2 separate regions of the Homo sapiens genome follow, and region 2 is linked to region 1. The links are contacts of gene promoters, found by promoter capture Hi-C in human tissues and cell types (Jung and others, 2019). All regions are on one chromosome and are shown on one strand. The core of a region is centred on a gene start or on the middle of the fragment in contact, and the rest is flanking DNA. Distances in the headings are between cores, read along the strand shown.

Region 1 (3,038 bases), core at 150-2,649:
AATTTAGTTTGATGAGACTAATGGCGTCCAATCGCACAGTGCCGGGCACATAACGGGAAGTCCAAAAATACAGTTATTATTGGAATAAAAATTCAGGCTGGGCGCAGTGGCTCACGCCTGTAATCCGAGAACTTTGGGAGGCCGAGGCGGGCGGATCATTTGAGACCAGATGTTCGAGACCAGCCTGGGCAACATGGCGAAACCCCGTCTCTACTAAAAATACAAAAATTAGTCGGCGTGGTGGCGGACGCCTGTAGTCCCGGCTACAGAGAGCCAAGATCGCACCACCGCACTGCAGCCTGGGCGACAGAGCAAGACCCTGTCTCAAAAAAAAAAAAAAAAGAAAAAAAAATCAGCCAAGACTTGGAAAAAGAAATTTAAAAAAGGAAAATTCATGCAGCCAGTAACTATTGGGACATCACTCACCAGGCACTATGCTAAACTGGGGTTAGGTGCTGAGCAAAACCAGGCCCCTCTCTAGATGGCTCTCTAGGTCCCACGACCATAGCTTAGGTGACACCGGCACCTGCGCGCTCCACAGCCTGTCGAAAAACACTCGGGAAGCAAACATTGAGAAGAAAATACTCCTTCTGTGGGCCTTTAGGAAAACCGAGTGACTTTTTTCGTGAGGGGAACCCATCTTTGTAAGCATTCGCGGAAACGGCAGTTTTATTACCGCCGGGAAGGGTCCCCTGAGTGTGTGCCCCATCTGAGTTCCGAGCTGGGCGGGCCATGCCTTGCCAACCCCGCTGCTCGCAGCATCTGCAGGCGCTGAGCGAGGCATCGCTGCCTGGCCGGGGCTTCTCGGATCTGGGGAAATCGAGGTCGCTTTCCCCGGCTCTCTGCAGCGGGGCAGCGCTGTCCACTCACTCCCCGCTCCCCGCGCACGCCCTTGCCCTCTTTCCCCCAAGTAGGGAAGGGTCTACGCGGGTCATAGCAGAGAGGCCACGCCGCCCGTGGTGACGGCCGGTCCCGGGGAGGGGGCGCCGCCACTGCCATCCCGCAGCCTGCGCTCCCCACACCCCGCCGCAGGCGCAGCGGACTGGTGGAGTGATGTCGGGAGATCGATCGAGAAGAATCTGGAAGAATCCGGTTAGACAGGGAAGCGGGCGGGGATGGGAGGGAGGGAGGAAGGGCCAAGGGAGGCCGCCGGGGAGATCCCGAGTCCGAGGGTCCCAGGAGAAGGGGGAGGGGGCAGGCAGCCAGAAGGAGGCAAGAACCAAAAAAAAAAAAAGAAAAAAAAATTCCGAAGCGCCCGCAGCACTGAGCCCGAACCGGCTCAGTCCCGCCGTCTCTAGAAAGTTCTGCACCCCGCCCCCTCTGTCTGCGCTCCCGCTCCTCCCAGCCCCTCCCTCGCGGCGGGGCGGGACCAATCGCTCCCCGAGCCGCTCCTGACCCACCTACCCCAGCTCTCGCGCCGCGTGCAGAGGTGCTCAAGCCTCCTCGCGGTCCGCAGTCAGTGCCGCCGCGCCCGGCCTCCCGCACGCCCCGCAGGTAGCGCCCCCGCCCGCGGCCCAGAGTGCGCTCGCGCCGGCACCAGCTCCCGGATAAACGGCGCGCCGCGCGGAGATGACAGCCGAGGAGATGAAGGCGACCGAGAGCGGGGCGCAGTCGGCGCCGCTGCCCATGGAGGGAGTGGACATCAGCCCCAAACAGGACGAAGGCGTGCTGAAGGTGAGGGGCGGCGGGGCCTGCGGAGGCGTCGGAACCCGGGGCCCCGCGGGCCGCCCTTCCGCCGCGCCCGGAGCCCGCGGCCGGGCACGGGTCGAGGCGGCCGCCTTTGCAGCCTCGCGGCCGTCCCGCCGGGGGCCGGTGGCATCGCCGTCCCGGACCGGGCTGCGTCGTTTAAGGCACCGAGGCCGGCCATGCGCTCGGCAGGGGGGCGGCCTAGGTGCGCGGGCCGAGGCCCCAGGCTCCCCAGCCGGCAGCGCCCGGGCCCGGGCAGGGGGTCGGGATTGCAGTGCCCACCCCGGCGCGCGCGGGGCGGCGGAGAGGGGCGGGGCGAGGCGACCGCCGCGGGCACCCGAGCCGCAGCCCGGGGCCAGGCCGGGCCTCCCACGCCACGCCGCCCCCGACCTCGCGGCCCCAGCGGAGCTGCCAGCCGCGGGCCGCCTCGTTGGTGGCGGTGCCAGGGCTCGCCCACCCGGGCGGTGGAACACGGGCCAGGACGGGGAGCGACTCCCCACAGTGCTTTCCTGGCCCTTCGGCCTTTGTGCGACGCAGGCGCGACAGGGTTCCGGCGCCCTCCCGGGGTCCCCTGCCGACGCCGGGACCCAGCGAGGTCCCCACTCGCCGCGCGGCGCCCCCTCCCTCGGCCCCGGGGAGGCCGGGCGCGGGGCATGCCGGGAGCTGTAGTCCCCTCCCCCCTCCGCCGCCTCCCGGAGCCAGGGCTGCGGGGTGTGGGGCGGGGAGGAGGCGCTCTGCTGTGGAGCCTGCCGCCGAGTGACCGCTCGACTACAAATAGCCTGGGGAGCTGCGGGGAGGGCATCTTGACCTGGGCCAGGACAACCTGCCTTGGGTCGGAGCAGGTTCCAGGGAGAATCAGAGATGGTGAATTCCCAGCCTGCGTCTTATGCCTTCTCCCCATCCGCTGCTGCGTCCTCATCCTGGCTTCCCACCGCTGAGCTCCGCGTGTGCGGCACCCACCTCAGGGGGCCTTTACCTGGTCCAGAAGTGCATCTGTCTTTGCACCAGATTATTGGGGACCTCAAGCGTCTGCTCCAGCGGCTCTCCTGTGGCATGTGACTTCCCCTTCTCGCTCCAGCGTCCTGCCGTTTTCTACGAGATTGTTATTCCAGGAAAGCTCATTTCCCCTTTGATCCATCATTCCTTCCCTTTTACCTTTCTACTCCTCAAAGCCCCTGTCTATTCTTCGTGGAAGCTTTCCCTTGGAGGGTAACCACACACCTACCAGGTGGCGCTAAAGAAGCCTTTACGTTTCTGGGAAATACTCCAGCCCTGGACTAACTACCAGAGGAATACTCAGCTCCCAAGTCAGAGTTTAAGGTCCCATGGAGAGCCTCCGGGTTCACCTATAA
Region 2 (3,038 bases), core at 277-2,776, 260 kb after region 1:
ACCTCAACTAAAAGCAGATAAAACCCAAATCATCCCAGTGTTTGCAGTAGTTATTACCTAAAGCTATTAAAGTAGTTACTCCTTAAAGGTATTACAAGAGTATTAATGTACGTTCGTGTCCATCATCTTCTTTATATTTATTTTTAAGCCTCTATCCAAAGAAAGAAAGCAGAATTAGCCTCACAGTTGGGCTGAAATCAGTTGAAGATGTAGGTCTGAGGTACGGTTACAGATCGGGGTATGAGTTCCAGATTTGGAGCTGCCGTGCTGTTCCAGTATGGAGAGATGCTTGGAGCCTGGGCACTGGGTCTGGGAGTGGGGCCTGGATGTGCCTTCTACAGTCATTTCTCCCAGGCTGGCAATTATCAGTGTGGGTGGCTTCCTTTGGTCAAGTTTTTCCTGCCGAATTAACAAGATTCATAGAACTCTCACTGTTTTGTTTTGTTTTGTTTTTTGTTTTTAAATAACTCAGTGCATCTTTCATCCCTGAGTGTCCTTTAAATCTCATTACCTGATATAAATACATAAGTACAAGAAATTCGGGCTGGGAGCGGTGGCTCACGCCTGTAATCCCAGCACTTTGGGAGGCCAAGGCGGGCGGATCACGAGGTCAGGAGATCGAGACCATCCTGGCTAACACGGTGAAACCCCGTCTCTACTAAAAATACAAAAAATTATCCGGGCGTGGTGGCGGGCGCCTGTAGTCCCAGCTACTCGGGAGGCTGAGGCAGGAGAATGGCGTGAACCTGGGAGGCGGAGCTTGCAGTGAGCCGAGATCGCGCCACTGCACTCCAACTTGGGCGACAGAGCCAGACTCTGTCTCAAAAGAAAAAAAAAAAAGTACAAGAAATTCATAGCTTAATTATGAATCAAAACTTGGCTATGGTATGCACAGTGTTTTAAAAGTGGACACTTCAGAACAATTGGCTTTGGCAAAACAAAAACAACCAAAAACCAGTTGACATTTTCAGGAGCTCACATATACTTTTAGTATAACCCATATCCAGTACCATTATGGACTCAAGCTTTTCACTACATTTTTGTTTTCTTTTTGATAATCAGATGATCACAGTTTTGCCTTTTTTTCCTTTCTTTTCTTTTCTTTTTAGAGACAATGTCACTGCAGCCTTGAACACCTGGGCTCAAGGGATCCTTCCACTTCGGCTTCCCAAGTAGCTGGGACTACAGGTACGCGCCACCACACCCAGCTAATTTTTTTATTTTTTGTAGATGTGGGGTCTCGTTATGTTGTCCAGGCTGGTCTTGAATTCCTGGCCTCCAGTGACTCTCCTGCCTCAGCCTCCCAAAGAGTGGGGATCACAGGCATGAGCCACCGTGCCTGGCTGGCTTTGACTTTTTTTCTTTCTTTTTTTTTTTTTTTTTTTGAGACGGAGTCTTGCACTGTCGCCCAGGCTGGAGTGCAGTGGCGCCATCTCGGCTCACTGCAAGCTCTGCCTCCTGGGTTCACGCCATTCTCCTGCCTCAGCCTCCCGAGTAGCTGGGACTACAGGCGCCCGCCACCACACCCGGCTAATTTTTTTGTACTTTTAGTAGAGATGGGGTTTCACCGTGTTAGCCAGGATGGTTTCGATCTCCTGACCTCGTGATCCGCCCGCCTTGGCCTCCCAAAAGTGCTGGGATTACAGGTGTGAGCCACCGCACCCGGCCCAGCTTTGACTTTTTATGCTGCGTCCTTTTTCCTTTTAACACTACCTTAAACATTTTTGTTTTTTAACTTACATACTTCTAGCAAAGTCTGCTCAGGCCAACTCTGATTTTTCTTGCACCAAGGTATGGAATCAGCTATTCCCCAAGGAGCCCTGTTTCTTTGAGTGGCAAATGTTATCAGTTGAATGTTATGTCTGGGCGCTCATGGTGCGAATCACATTATCCGTGTGAGAACTAAAGGCAGGCGTCTGCTTCTAGTGCACTCCAGTGGGAGCTGGGAAATGAGTTCGTGCTGATGTGTCCAATTCAACTCCAACTCTAAGTCCTTTAAAAAAATACACCCTGTTATAAAAGGTTTTCATTTTTTTCTCCCCTTTTAAACTTCCAGCTTATTCTTCTTTTATAAAAACAACTATATATATATATTTTTTTCTACCTCCTTCCCCCCATATGTGTATTCCAATTAAAACATTAATGAACTTTTTAATGTCATAAATGGATGTATACCTACTTAGATCCCAGACACCCTGGCAAGGGCTTCAAATGTGCCATCTTCACTTTTATACTCCTTGTGTGTCTTATCAACCATCATCCTCTGGTCATTTATTGACAGTCACACAATTTCATTTCACCCAACTCTATTGAATTCATGAGACTTTGATTTCAATTTCAAACCATCGGCATGGGTTCCTGCTGTCCAGGAGCAATCACGCCTTCTGACTCTTCCCTGCGTTTGGTACTGGAGATCGGGGATGTCATTTTCTCATTGTTTCTCCCTGTTATCTTCAGGGCTCCTCTCAGACGGTCTCTGCGACCTGCTCTTCAGAGAGCTTCCGGAGGAAATATAATTAACATGCATCTAACAAAGTTAACCTTTTTAACAATTTTTATTCTTTTTTTTTTTTTTGAGACAGTCTTGCTCTGTCACCCAGGCTGGAGTGCAATGGCGCGATCTCGGCTCACCACAACCTTCGCCTCCCAGGTTCAAGCAATTCTCCTGCCTCAGCCTCCCGAATAGCTGGGATTACAGGCTCCTGCCACCATGGCTGGCTAATTTTTTTGTATTTTTAGTAGAGATGGGGTTTCACCATGTTGGCCAGGCTGGTCTCGAAATCCTGACCTCAGGTGATCCACCTGTCTCGGCCTCCCAAAGTGCTGGGATTACAGACGTGAGCCACCACGCTCAGCCACACATGGGTTTTTATAAATAAGCAGATTTCTTTTTCATAGTGCATGCAATGGAGAAAAGCAGATAACTCTATCTCCATCAGCTTGTCCCCAAAGTCCAAGCCCCTCTCCTTGTCACCCAGCACACCCTCATCTCAAGTGCTCAGCCTTTCTTGTCCTGACTCAGCTCCTACCTTCCCCAC

What was found. The method cuts DNA at HindIII sites, captures the fragments that hold promoters and counts their contacts. A contact is called where the count stands out against the background at its distance.
Region 2: a fragment that was not itself captured here is called in contact with the fragment with the promoter of FKBP4 in region 1 in 1 of the 25 tissues and cell types used here (dorsolateral prefrontal cortex).

Annotation. Positions count from the first base shown.
Region 1 is chr12:2,793,571-2,796,608 of GRCh38, forward strand. FKBP4 (FKBP prolyl isomerase 4) reads left to right here and starts at 1,400. Exons shown (of 10, transcript NM_002014.4): 1 at 1,400-1,674. The coding sequence starts at 1,570. The region is part of intron 2 of ITFG2-AS1 (ITFG2 antisense RNA 1); the gene reads right to left. RefSeq lists enhancers at 279-824, 825-1,369, 2,863-3,038 and silencers at 1,219-1,598, 1,629-1,688, 2,039-2,448. The HindIII fragment of the contact is 5,309 bases long and covers 1-3,038 here.
Region 2 is chr12:3,057,868-3,060,905 of GRCh38, forward strand. No RefSeq gene overlaps it. Among named protein-coding and RNA genes, the nearest start is that of TSPAN9, 18 kb to the right of the region's middle. The HindIII fragment of the contact is 4,152 bases long and covers 1-3,038 here.